Regions from separate parts of the Homo sapiens genome. Here region 2 is linked to region 1. Evidence: promoter capture Hi-C in 16 types of primary human blood cells and fetal thymus (Javierre and others, 2016). All regions are on one chromosome and are shown on one strand. The core of a region is centred on a gene start or on the middle of the fragment in contact, and the rest is flanking DNA. Distances in the headings are between cores, read along the strand shown. Region 1 holds the start of LEPROTL1 (leptin receptor overlapping transcript like 1). Region 2 overlaps LINC00589 (long intergenic non-protein coding RNA 589).

The links. Contacts are between HindIII fragments. The CHiCAGO score rates a contact against its expected background, and 5 or more counts as called.
Region 2: a fragment that was not itself captured here is called in contact with the fragment with the promoter of LEPROTL1 in region 1 in 1 of 17 cell types (neutrophils); the score reaches 5.6 in neutrophils.

Annotation. Positions count from the first base shown.
Region 1 is chr8:30,090,149-30,097,554 of GRCh38, forward strand. LEPROTL1 (leptin receptor overlapping transcript like 1) reads left to right here and starts at 5,260. Exons shown (of 4, transcript NM_015344.3): 1 at 5,260-5,380. The coding sequence starts at 5,365. RefSeq lists an enhancer at 2,823-2,992 and a silencer at 5,108-5,567. The HindIII fragment of the contact is 3,733 bases long and covers 3,238-6,970 here.
Region 2 is chr8:29,714,698-29,721,864 of GRCh38, forward strand. LINC00589 (long intergenic non-protein coding RNA 589) reads right to left here. Exons shown (of 4, transcript NR_026765.2): 4 at 6,562-7,167. Among named protein-coding and RNA genes, the nearest start is that of LINC00589, 30 kb to the right of the region's middle. The HindIII fragment of the contact is 7,866 bases long and covers 1-6,295 here.

The sequences.
Region 1 (7,406 bases), core at 4,010-6,509:
TTAGGAGTTCAAGACCAGCTTGGCCAACATGGTTAAACCCGTCTCTAACTAAAAATACGAAAATTAGCCAGGTGTGGTGGCACATGCCTGTAATCCCAGCTACTTGGGAAGCTGAAGCAGGAGAATCACTTGAATCCAGAAGACAGATGGTGCCACAGCACTCCAGCCTCAAAAAAAAGAACAAAAAAATTAGCCACGTGTGGTGGTGGGCACCTGTAATCTCAGCTATTCGGGAGGCTGAGGCAGGAGAATTGCTCGAGCCCAGAAGTTGAAGGTTGCAGTGAGCCGAGATCGCACCACTGTACTCCAGCCTGCAGCTTGGGTGACAGAGTGAGACTTGGTCTCAAAAAAAAGAAAGGAAGAAAAAGAAACTCAAAATAAGGCAACCATTTGTCTCTTATCTACCTATGACCTGGACACCCCCTCCCCACTTTGAGTTGTCCCGCCTTTGCAGACCGAACCAATGTACACCTTATATACAGTTATTGATGTCTCATGTCTCCCTAAAATGTATAACACCAAGCTGTGCCCCAACCACTTTGGACACAGGTCATCAAGACCTGCTGAGGCGTGTCAAGGGTGCGTCTTCAACCCTGGCAAAATAAACTTTCTAAATTGACTGAGACCTGTCTCACATATTGTGGGTTCACAGAACAAAACAAGAAAAGGTGTTGTGGTAGGTGACATGTGGGATGGAATTATTCACTTCTCCAGGAATTCCACCTATCCATTCAAGATGGCTGGGGAGAAGGACGTATATGCCTGCTTCAGTAGTTTAGAGAAAGGAGCTGGTGGCTCACAGATTCCGTGTAAACAGCGTGTATTTCCATGGCATATGTTCAAGTGTGCCTTGTGGTTTTGTTACCACATCCTTAAATGGAAACTTTTTTCATGATACAGGAAAGAGATGGTAGATCTTTCTGCACTAACTTGAACAGAAAAAAATTCTACTCTCCTACAAAACACCCATAGACTCATTTGGTGCATTAAGACTCAAGAAGTGACCTGTTTGTTGTTGTTGTTGTTGTTGTTTAAATTGTAATTCAACTCTAGAAATAGTAGAGAGAAGCGAAGTGGGTAATGCCTCAAGCTTCCCATTTGCTCTCATTTTAAAGCATATTGGAAATATCTCTTCTAAACATTCACTCCACAGTCTTACATGCCACTTTATGTTAGTCTGATGACTGAAAAAAAGTTAAAAATTCAAATCGTACGTAGCTCACCCCCACCTACTTCCTTTTAAAACCTTCAAAAGATTTTTATTGCTCAGAGAGAAAACCCAAAACTGCTTGTGTACGTCCCTACTATATAAGCATGCTGCCCCACCCCAACCTTGACCAACCCCATTGGCCACCTCTCTTTTCTCCAAGGGACCAAGCAAGTTCCTTGCTCCATTTGCTGCCAAAGCTCCTAACTCCCCACCACACATACATACATGCGCGCACGCAAACACACAAACACACAAAAACACAACACACAAAACACACACAAACACACATGCACAAACACACGCACACACACAAACATGCATACACACGCAAACGTGCACAAACACGCAAACACATGCAGGCACACACAAACACGCCCACAACACAGACACGCACGCACACAAACACACATGCACGCACAAACGCATACACAGACACGCACACAAACGCACGCACAGACAAACGCACACACACAACACCCAAACACGCACAAGGACGCACACACACGCACACACAAATACCCATGCACACGCAAACACGTACACAAACACATACACACAAACACGCACAAACACATGCATGCACACACACATGCAGGCACACACAAACACAAACACGCACACACACAAACACACGCAAACACACACACACAAACAACACACCCCGCCACCTGCGATGGCTTTTCCGTTCTCTATTAACACATTTATTCATCACTGTGTTGTCTCTCCTTGGGGGAAATTTTCCTTGGCAGATCGCAATCAAAAGTTTTCAGAGAACTATTTACCCATCTTTCCTAGTGTAGGAAAGGATAAAAACTTTCTTTACCCTCCTAGGTTCAGAAGCTGAGAACTGTGAATTAAACTAACAAAGTACAGATTACCAGGAAAAAAAAAAAGGTTTATTTTGCATGCACAAGGAGGCTTCACAGAAAAGAAGTGAAAACTCAAAAAGTAATTAGGCCTGGGAGCATGTATCATTTTAACAAAGGGTGATGCATTGTGGAAAAGTAGACAAAGGAAAGGTTTTGGACTTCTAGGGGCAGTAGATTTTAAGAAGGTAAATATATAGGGGAAAACTAATGAAAGATAAGGGCTATTTTAGTAATGTTTTCACAGACTCCAATAAATGCTGTTTACTGGGGCATAGGAGTTGCATCCTCTCCCTGGTCTGGGAAATGTAAATATTTATAAGTAGAAAAATTTGTTTACACATTTTTTGGGGGCCAGGCGCAGTGGCTCACACCTGTAATTTCAGCACTCTGGGAGGCCCAGGTGGGCCGATCACTTGAAGCCAGGAGTTCAAGACCAGCCTGGCCAACATGGTGAAACCCTGTCTCTACCTAAAAATACAAAAATTAGCCAGGCATTGTGGCTCATGACTGTAATCCCAGCTACTTGGGAGGCTGAGGCAGGAAAATCACTTTAACCAAGAGGCAGAGGTTGCAGTGGGCTGAGATCACACCACTGCACTCCAGCCTGGGCGATAGAGCAAGACTGAAAGTTAGCTGGGCGTAGTGGCGCGTGCCTGTAGTCTCAGCTACTTGGGAGGCTGAGGCAAGAGAATCGCTTGAACCCAGGAAGCGGAAGTTGCAGTCAGCCGAGATCATACCACTGCACTCCAGCCTGGCCACAGAGCGAGACTCCGTTTCAAAAGAAAAACAAAACAAAACAAAAAGTGGAACTTTATGTTATCTTTACAAAGGGAACTTAAGCACGGCCTTTGGGTAGAAAAGGAGAGAGCAGAGAGCTCCTCCTATGCCTGTTGCTTCTTATTTGCTTTCAGCTCAAAACAATCCTTAGCCTTATTTTCACTCGTGTCCGTGTGAAGAGACCATCAAACAGGCTTTGTGTGAGCAACAAGGCTGGTTATTTCCCCTGGGTGCAGGTGGGCTGAGTCCGAAAAGAGAGTCAGCGAAGGGAGATAGGGGTGGGGCCATTTTATAGGATTTGGGTAGGTAAAGTAAAATTACAGTCAAAGGGGGTTGTTCTCTGGCAGGCAGGGGCTGGGGTCACCAGGTGCTCAGTGAGGAAGCTTTTGAGCCAGCATGAGCCAGGAGAAGGAATTTCACAAGGTAATGTCATCAGTTAAGGCAGGAACCGGCCATCTGGATGTGTACGTGCAGGTCACAGGGGATATGATGGCTTAGCTTGGGCTCAGAGGCCTGACATTTATTTGTTTGTTTGGAGACAGAGTCTTGCTTTGTTGCCCAGGCAGTGGCACAATCAGAGCTCACTGCAGCCTCGACCTCCTAGGCTCAAGCAATCCTCCTACTTCAGCCTCCCAAGTAGCTGGAACTACAGGCACACACCAAGCCTGGCTAATTTTTTTTTCGTTTTTGTAGAGATGGAGTCTCACTATGTTGCCAGGGCTGGTCTTCAACTCCTGGGCCAAAGCGATCCTCCTGTCTTAGCCTCCCAATGTGCTGGGATCACATGCCTGAGTCACCACACCAGACTTCAAAGTGGCATATTTTAGAGTGACATATTCTGATCCCCTTTACTAGCAATTATCATTATTGCAATTTTACATTTTTTGTGTGTCTGTCTTCCTCACCAGTCTGCAAACAGTACCTGGTTTTGCACATCTCAGCGTCTAACCCTGTGCCTAACACATAGTAAATGTTCTATAAATAATTGTAGGATGTGTAAATAAAGGTGTTGAACCTGGGCTTTCACTTTTTTTTCCTTGCCTTGTTACTACCAAAAAGACAGCCACCCAAGGGACTGGATTTCTATTAAATCCACCCTTTACTGAGCCCTGCTGCTCCTATCTCTGGAGGTGGGTCCTCACCAGAACCCTAGTCCTGTATAGGAAACCAAGGAGCCAAGTGCAGACCACCCAACTAACCTTAATTATAGGACTGGGGATGGAGGGATGGAGGGAGAGAGGAAAAGGCGCAGTAAAATAATGTGCGCAGTGGCTCACACCTGTTGTCGTAACCGAGCGAGTTATAGAGAAACACCACACTTTGAGACTAATTCAGGAGTCCTTTATTGCCGGCGACCGAGAGACGACTACAGCTCAAAATTCTCTCGGCCCTGAAGAAGGGGCTAGATTTCTTTTTATACCTTGGTCTAAATAGGGAAGGGGTAGTCTAGCTGAAGCAATTTTTACAGAAGCAGAACAGGCAAAGAGTTAAAAGATAAATGGTTATAGAAACAGTTACAGGAAAATAAACAGTTCCAGGTGCATGGGGCTTAAATTATCACAAAGAGATAAACGCAGGGGCTTTGGGTACCATCAACCGAGCGCGTTCCCAGGAGCTGCTGGTACAGCTTGCCTCAGTATCTTATCAGTAAGCACATTCCTGGATGTGCTTGGTGTCAGTCTGCACCAGTTATGTCCTTAAGGGAGGGGGACAAGGTGCTGCAAGCGAAGAAACCAAAATGGAGTCTGTCCCGCTCTCTCAGCTAAGAGCGAGTCAATCAGGTTAAAACAAGGTAGGGTATCAAGCTGTAATCCCAGCGCTTTGGGAGGCCGAGGAGGGCAGATCCTTGAGCTCAGGAGACCAGCTTGGGCAACAAGATGAGAGTCTCACACCCCGCCCTGTCTCTACAAAAAACAAAACAAAACAAAACAAAAAAAAGCCAGGCATGGTGGCTCATGTCTGTGGTCCCAGTTACTGCGAGGCCGACGTGAGAGAATCACTTGAGCCCTGGAGATCGAGGCTGCAGTAGCCGTGATCACACTCCAGCCTGGGCGAAAGAGACCCTGTCTCAAAAAACAAACAAAACAATGTGAAATTAAGCCAAAAGCCATCACACGTGCATCCAAAGGACGGCCGCTACCCGCGACCCCTTCCCAACGCACGCGGGAGGTTGCGGGATCAGGGACAGGGGCTTCAGCAGGGAGCCCCCAGACCGGCCCTGACAGGAATTCAAGACCTGGCGCCTGCTCATTCCCCCAGTCGGGGCGGCGGCGGCAAGCCTCGGCCGGCGGCGATCTGCACACCCGCGGAGAAGAGAGGCAGGGGGTCGACCCCACAGCCCAGCCCGGCGCGTCCCCCGCGCCCCCGCGCGAGCCCGAGTCGCCGGCGGAAGTGCTGCGTCGCGCACTTCCGGGTGTTGTCTGGCCGCCGTAGCGCGTCTTGGGTCTCCCGGCTGCCGCTGCTGCCGCCGCCGCCTCGGGTCGTGGAGCCAGGAGCGACGTCACCGCCATGGCAGGCATCAAAGGTGGGCCTGGGTTGCAGGACGCGGGAGGGCTGGGGCCGGCGGGGGAAGATGGGCCGGGGGTCCCACGCGGCCCCCGCACTTCCCCTCCGGGCTCGCGCGCGCGCGTGGGGTCCCTGCGCCGGGGAAGCGACCCCCGCCCCGGCCCTGCGCTTGGCCCGGAGGTGGGCGCGGCGCCCTCGGGCAACGGACGGTTGCGACCCCGGCTTCGCCCCGCAGCCCCCACTTTCTGCCGATTTCGGCAGCCTCTCTCCCACCCATCGCCCCCCGGACAAAATATGAAGTGGTTGGCGGTCAGTGAGGAGTCCCGTCGCGACTTGGACGGCCACACACGTTTTGCAGGAGTTTGCATCCGAGAGAGAGGCAGGCAGAGCGTGGGATTGAGAAGGCTGAGGCTGCTAGAGATGCCAGCTATGGAAAACCAGTCATTTCCCACCGAAAGGCACAAGTGCGGTCTGCGGGCGCTGCACGGGTCTGCCCGAAACCTCGACCCCACGTCCACCCCGGCCGCCCGCGCCCGAGGCTTTACAGGCTCCCGAAACGGGTGCATTTTCATCTGCGGTGTCTGGACCCTAGAGTTGATCCTGTAGGCGACCCCAAAGTGCTCCTGGCTCTCTTCCCTCTCCGCAGTTGCACCCTGAGGCTTTTTCAAATTTCAAAATTTTTCTTTTTTTCCTTTTTTTTTTTTAAGAAGATAAAATACTGGTACAACTTAATGAAAAACTACTGGCTTATTCATGTATTTTCTTTTAAAAAAAGGAATGTTGCATTTGTTCCACCTGTTAGGTAGTTTTGTTGTCAGTGTGATGAGAAGCAAAGTTTTCAGCTACTGCTTAACTAATTACATTGATTTCTTGACCTGCCGCTCTGTAGAAGGGCAGTCAGGCAGGAAGCAGGTAACTTTGGGAGCAGTGGTTTTCTTTGTATTTTTTCTTCTCTAAGGAAAACTTAATCGAGTTTTTTTTCAGGGTCACAGTCTTACTGTTTCTTGTTTATTTTCAATGTCTGAAAACATTTCATTTCCCATATAAAACCTTGTCATTTAAGCAACTGGGATACTTTGTAATCTCCTTTTGAACTATGATAGACTCTAAACCCTTATGTGAAAGGCAGTTATTGTGAATTGCTGTGGTTTTTAGGATGTTGCCCGTTTCCCTGTTCTTCCCTGTTTCTTCAGTGTCAATAATGCGGGGGTCTCTTAAGAAAATAGCTTTGTAATTTACTTCTCCAGACCTAGGGAAATACTGCATTAAACTGATGAAGGTGCCTCAGGTGAACTGCACTTTTGATTTCAGCAGGATTTTCTGGTTGTTATGAGTCAGTATGTTTCTTTCTCTTGGCCTAATATCTTTATATTAGGAAGGAGTGTTGCTGTAATTAGAGACCATTAGGCATTGCTTGAGCCATTTGTCTATTACTTTTTGATATATTGGATTTTCTGGTAACTCCCAGGTTAGAGAAGTGGTCCCTCCTTCTACTCTAATTTCTTTGTAATCACAGAATCAGCATCTTGTCTCTAGAGAGTTTTGCTAGATAATTGGGCTGCTCCATGCCTAGCCTAGAGGCTTTGGGAGTAGAACCCAGACTTATCTAAGCTTTGTCTTCCAAATGTTGCATCACTCAATTACTGTATGAATTCTTGCCTTGTTGATGTGTCATTTAAGAAACAGCTTATATACAAATGATGAAGTGTATATATAAATCTTCCTAGTTGCCAATTTCATAAGATTGAAGAAACTGCAAGTTTTGAGAACACTTTTAAGCAATTTATTTAACCTCTAATTGGCTACCTTATTCGGTATGACTGGAAGATGAGATGTCACATCAAACTGTGTTATGAATATTTAAAAAAAATTTAGTATTTAATCCTGGCGCGGTGGCTCACACCTGTAATCCCAGCACTTTGGGAGGCCGAGACGGATGGATCATGAGGTCAGGAGTTCAAGACCAACCTGTCCAAGATGGTGAAACCCCATCTCTACTAAAAATACAAAAAAATTAGCTGGGCATGGTGGCAGGCACCTGTAAT
Region 2 (7,167 bases), core at 1,113-3,612, 380 kb before region 1:
ATGCAGGTGAGTGAGGGAATCTGGAAGTCTAAATCTAAGTTCATCATCTTCATATCCACCCCACCTCTTGTCTTGCCTTTCAAAGCTCACCAGCACCTCTAGTCCTTAGGCTCTCTTGGGTTCTAATGAGAATATCATCTTGGTTTTTATCGACATTCTTATTGACTGGCAATTAAACATTAGCTTTCTCTACTTTGCTGAGTTACCAATGGTCCATCCACTTTCAGTCATCCAAAATGTTCTCCCATCCCTCATCTGCAATCATTTCCACAGGATTTCAGAAAGAAGCAAATATAACACATCTATTCAATCCACCATGTTTAACAAAATTTTCTGATGTGATTTTTTAAAATGCTTTTAAAATATGCCTACAAAAACATTCACCTGTTCAAAGGGTACTATATTAGATGAGTCTTGACAAATGCATATAGCTATGCAACCACCGCTACAGTCAAGATATAGAACATATGTATCACTCCCAAAATGTTCAGGCATGGACCTTTGTAGCTGATGCCCTGTCTCTACCCTGAATCCCTGGCAAACACTGAACATTTCTCTCCCTAGTTTTGCCTTTTCTAGGATGTCATATAAATTGAATCATAGTCATACAGGCAGTTGTGTCTGGCTTCTTTCACTTACCATAATAATTTTGATTTCCATCCATTTGTTTCATGTATCAGTAGTTCACCACGCTTTACTGTTGAATAGGATTCCATTATATGGACAGACCACAGTTTGTTAATCCATTCATTAGAAGATGGATATTTGAGTTGTTTCCAGTCCTTGGCTATTATTAATAAAGTTGCTGTGAACATATGTTTAAAGGTCTTTGGATGTGAACACATGTCTTTACTACTCTTAGGTAAATATCTAAGAACGGAATTGCTGGGTCGTGTAGTAAGTGTATGTGTTAAAATGTATAAGAAGTTTCCAATCTGTTTCAAAGTGGTTGTAAGATTTTAAATTCTTTTCAGCAATATGTGAGCAATCCAGTTGCTCCACATTCTCACCAATAATTGCTATTATCATTTTAAAAAACGTTAGCTAACATATGAGGTGTTAAATTATATCATATCATGATTTTAATTTGCATTTCCCTGATGACTAATATTGTTGAGTATCTTTCATATTCAATATACGGACGCCATGATTGAAAATTCAATACCACTCAAAATTGTACTATAATAAATAAACAAATCACTTAGGTATTGCTACAGGTTGAATTATGCTTTGCCCCTCTCATCCCAAAAAGATATGCTGGAATCTTAAACCTCATACCTCAAAATATGGTCTTATTTAGAGATAGACTCTTTACCGGGGTAAAGTTAAAATGTGGTTATTAGGGTAGGCTCTAATCCAATCTGACAACACCATTATAAAACGGAGAAATTTGGACATGGAGACAGACGAGCACAGAGGGAAGGTGATGTGAGGAGACACGGGGAGAAGACAGCCATCTACAAGCCAAGGAGAGGGCCCTGGAACAGATCCTCCCTCACAGCTCTAGGAAGGAACCAACTCTGCTGATATCTTGATTTCAGATTTCTAGCATCTGGAACTGTGAGAAAGTAAATTTCTGTTGTTTAAGCTATTCGGTTTGTAGTATTTTGTTACAGAAGCCATCACAAACTAATACAGATGCAAATCTAATATATAAGCAGGACTTGCATGCTGAAAACACAAAATATTGCAAGAAATCAAAGATCTAAGTAAATGGAGAGACAAACCATGTCATAAGACTCAGCACAGCAAAGGGTTAATTCATTGCCAAATTGATACACAGCTTTAATGAAATTCCTATTAAAATCCTAGCAAGATTTCTTTGTAGATATAGACAAGACTACTCTAAAATTTATATGGACAGGCAATGAACTAGAATAGCTGAAACCATTTTGAAAGGGAAGAACAAAATGAGAGGAATCGGTCTACCTGATTTTCGACTTATTATATAGCTACAGTAATTGGGACTGTTTGATGCTGGTGGAAGAATACACACAACGATCAATAGAACAGAGGAACGAACCCAAAAATAGACCCACACAAGTATGCCCAAGTGATTTTCAATGAAGTTACAAAAGCAATTCAATGGAAGAAAAATAGCCTTTCCAGCAAATTGTGCTGGAGAAATTGGACATTCACAGGCAAAAAACAAAACAAAACAAAACAAAACAAACAAACAAACAAAAACTCAGCTCAACCTAATTCTTACACCTAATTTTTTAAAAATTAACTCAAAATGTAAAGAGACTTAAATGTAAAATATAAAACTAAAACATTTACAAGAAAACATAGTAAAAAATCCTGGGGATCTAGGGCTAGACAAAATATTCATAGAGTTGACACCAAAAGTGTGATCCTTAAAAGAAAATCTTGATAAATCACAATTAAAAATTTTTGCTCTGTGAAAGACACTGTGAAGAGGATGAAAAGACAAGCTATAGACTGAGAGAAAATATTTTCAAATCACGTATTTGACAAAGAACTAGCATCTAGAATATACATAAAGAACTCTCAAAACTCAACCTTTAAAAAAACCAAACTGGCCGGGCATGGTGGCTCATGCCTGTAATCCCAAAGCTGGGAGACCGAAGCAGGCAGATCACCTGAGTTCAGGATTTTGAGACCAGCCTGGGCAACATGGTGAAAACCCGTCTCTACTAAAAATATAAGAAATTAGCCGGGCATGGTGGCACGTGCCTGTAATCCCAACTACTCAGGAGACTGAGGCAGGAGAATCACTTGAACCCTGGAGGCGAAGATTCCAGTGAGCCAAGATCACACCACTGCACTCCAGCCTGGGTGACAGAATGAGACTCCATCTCAAAAGCAAAAAAATTCAATATGCGTTTATCATAAGACCCAGCAAATGCTCTTCTGGGCATTTATCTCAGAGAAATAAAGTAAAATCTTATGTTCTCAAAAATACCTGTATATCAATGTCTGTAGCATCTTGCAATTGCCCAAACTGGAAGCGGCCCAGATATCCTTCAACAGGTGGATGGTTAAACAAACTGTAGTACGCCATACCCTGGAATACCATTCAGCAATAAAGATTAAAAAGCTATTGATACATGCAACAACTTTCAGAGGATTATGCTGCAAATAAAAAAACAGTGCAATCCCAAAAGATTACATACTGTATAATCCCATTTATATAACATTCCTGCAAAGACAAAATTATAGATATGGAGAACAGTGGTTGCCAAGGATTAAGGAAGGGGTGGGTGCAGGAGGGAAGTGGATGTGGAGGACTCTTGTAGCCAAGGAAATTGTCTGTATTTTGATGGTATCAATGTCAATGTCCTGGTATGAAATAGTACAATGGTTTGGCAAGATACTACCAAGTTGGAGGAACTGGGTGAAAGATAGAGGGATCTCCCTGTATTATTTCTTACAAGTGCATGTGAATCTACAATTACCTCAAAATGTTTAATTTTCAGATGAAAGCAAAAAAAAAGAAAGCCAAACTAAACAAAAATAACATTTCTAGATAACTCAGAAATGTTATAGTTTCTATAAATATTTTTAAAGAAAATCAGTGCTAAATTCAGTTCATCTCCTCCTTCAGATTCTCCTGTTCTAGAACAGGTGCTAGAGCTTCAGCTATAAACTTAGATAGTTTGTGACTGAGTCAACTTCTAGCGAGTTAGGATGTCCACAGCAGAGTGCTGGGAGCTGTACCTGCCCGGCACCACCCCTGTGCTCAGTACGCTACAGTCCATGTGACAGGCAGGCTTAAGGTCTACAATTAGAGAAGCAGGTGGATCTCCTTTGTCCTCAGGTCTAAGTCACTTTCTCCTCTCTGGCTCCCCCAGAAAGCCTTGGGGGTTAAGACACACCTGCCTACCCGTTAGGAAAACTGACAGTTTGTTTCCCATTTGGCTCTCAATTTTCTGTGAGTTGCACTAGCTTTAAGGAGAAGAAGGGTGAATTCAAATCAGCCTTACCTCTTGACTCCATTAGGAGATCCTGAGGTTGGACCAGCGGCATCTCCCAAGATGGGGTTGGGGTACTGGACTCCCACAAGGAGGCCGGAGCAAAGGCACATGAGGCTACTTACACCTGCACTCCTGACAGAGGCTGCTGGGACATCCAGAAATAATTAGAAAGCCATTGGGCTTTTCTTACCTGGTAAATTATACATTTGGGTGATATCTACGTCCTTTCCTCATGTTCTCCTTGGGAATAAAGGAACAAATGTGCGAGCTGATTGTCCAGAGTTTGTGGTAGGTAAGAGAGACAGAAACGAGGCTCAGAAGTGTGCTGTGGGTCCTCTAATACCTGGCTCAGCGGTTCAAAGACGACTCGAGGGACTTCATGGAGTTCCACTGGACATTTCCTGCAAGGGGTTCTGGTTCCCCCTTCATTTTCACTGCACACACCTCTATCTGACATAGGGAGTTTGCTTCTGGGCCCCTGCTGCCTTCCGCTTCCCCTCTGACAAGCTGCTAAGGTCTCTAGTTCCCTTGCCTGTCCCTGTGTCTGTGCTAGGTGGCTTGGATCCTCAGATTGCCATGCCCCTTAGCTTGTCTTGGCATCTCTGCCATTGATTCCCAATTGGAACCATCTCCATGAGACCTTTGACTTGGCATGCCACAGCCCTCTGCTCCCCATGAGCTGAGTCCTGGGATCCTGGGCCCAGGGTGCCAGGACAGGACCTAAGCAGCAGCCACTTTTCTGGCAAGATGACCTTTAAAAATTTTGGCTTTTCCCCAGCATGTCAGCACGCCCTTGTGATTCAGTTGAACTTTCCAGTTGCCTTAGTCTCAATGCAGCCTGTGGGGTGAGGAGGTGACTCTTGCCCTCTATTAGGAGCTCTGCTGGTCATCTCCTCTGACCACAGCCAGCTTTCCTTCCTCCCTTCACTCTGAAGGCCCTGCTTCCTGAATTGCACGAGATCAGACACATTCACATCTCACTATTCCAGCTGCCTGCAAATTTTTGATAACACTATCCTACCAGCAAAACAACTTTAATTATGTATCCCCAAGAAGTAAAGTGCTCTACTAACCTATACATTATAACAGTAAGAAAAATGAAAATTTAAAAAGGATGGTGCATTAGAAAGCAGAAATCCTAGTGTGATCTTCTTTCACCTGAGCAGCTCATTGTGTTCTGAGACCCTGGCTCTACCCTGCTAAAACCAGTAGTGAAGTAGACTAAGTCTTTTCAGAAGGGTATCAAGCATGTGCCACCTGGATTTTGGTGGATATTGACCATTACCCCAAGGAAAAACTTTTATGGTAAAAAGCCTGACTCCCCCCTTCAGAATGTGTGAGCCTCACTCTCTTCATTTGTAAAATCACCATCTGAATTCTATGCTTTGAAAGACACTTTCAGGTCAAATACTTATTAGGTGTCTACATATCCATCAACGAAGACTTAAAGGCTTTGGGGCAAAGAAAAACAGTACCTGGGGAGAATTGTGAAATTTCAGAATCTGAACACAAACAACATTTTTTTTTTTTTTTTGAGATGGAGTGTCACTCTTCTGCCCAGGCTGGAGTGCAGTGGCGCGATCTCGGCTCACTGCAACCTCTGCCTCCCGGGTTCAAGTGATTCTCCTGCTTCAGCCTCCCAAGTAGCTGGGATCACAAGCATTCGCCACCACGCCCAGCTAATTTTTGTATTTTTAGTAAAGATGGGGTTTCACCCTGTTGGCCAGGCTGGTCTCGAGCTCCTGACTTCAGGTGATCTGCCTGCCTCGGCCTCCCAAAGTGCTGGGATTACAGGCATGAGCCAAACAACTTTTTACCAAGGAGGAACTTAAGAAACAAAAAGGATGGTGGATTTACACGGGATTTTCCCAGCAGAGGCTAGGATCTGTGTGCTTGGTTGTATTGTTCATTTCACAGACAGTAATGTTGATTTGGAAGAGGATGAGTGAATTTCACATATTATCTGGGAACTCATTACACAAAAGCAAGGAACTCTTTTGCTATAATTTTTAAAATCTTTGATACTTTGATTAGCACCTACAATATCTCGTTATCATCTGAATTTCTTTTATTATCTGTGTGTTGAAAATTTTTTCATATTTTTTATCATGTGTCTTTCCTCCTTATGAACCATCTGTTTATGTCCTTTGCTCAATCATATATTGGAGTCTTATAATTTTGGGGGTCATTTTTGGTGATTGAGATTTTATATAATGAGGATATTAAGATGCGCATGTAAGTGTGTGTGTGTGTGTGTGTGTGTGTTTGGTTAACCAATTGACTTGAGCTCTTACAAATTTTCAAGCTAAATAGCTATTCTATTTTGGTTTAGGGAAAAAGAAAATCGAACCAAGATAAGCTTTTAAATTCAACTTCCTTTCCAGCAGAAAGGGAAAGCAGGAATTGTAGAGCTGCTGAACAAGAGCAATTTTCATTCTCTCTTGGTTTGAATGAGTTTCTTTTTTCCTTATGAAATGGGAACTTCTTTTCTGTGTATCTATACAGTTGTTATTATCGTTGTAATAATGAACTTCTATTGAGAAGCACTAGAAGCTGAAGCACTTCAGATCGGGACAATAAGCCCAATACAGCGGCTTGATTTAGACAGGGACCCTCACTTCTGTTTAGAAATACATTTTCAATCATTTTAATGAAAAGGGCGACAGCAGCCATGGTGTGTTCAGATACTCAGCATGACACCGCCTGCAAGCTCTATTGTCTTTCGCTGATTAAACTGGGCTGGTTGAGAATTACATTTCTGCACCCATGGTTCCGCTGTGGTGAACACCGGGAGTAAGCAAGCTCTTATTCAGGTCCCAAGCAAGCCACAGCCAGCATGTCAGAAAGCAAGATTCAAGTCAGGGTCCCCTTGGCTTCGACTGGCTCTACTGGATCAAACAGCTCCAGCGGGGACAGAGGCAGCAGGAAAGAGCTTCCTCAATAAGGAAATTGAAGAGCAGGAGGAAGGAAAAAATAACCTGAAACTCAGATGGGCAAGATTAGGGGTGGGGAGTGAGAGCCAGAGATCATGTGTCAGCACCCAGAGCGGAGGAGAAAGAATTCTGATTCCAGTCCACACCACCCTAGACTGCAGCATTGAGCACCCCAGGGCTGGCGTTCATCTCAACCCCCTCATTTTCTCAGTTGAGGAAACAACCCTGGAGAGGTGAGGTGACCCGCTTAACATCATGCCACGTGTGTGGGAGAGAAGGGACATGAACCCTGTCCC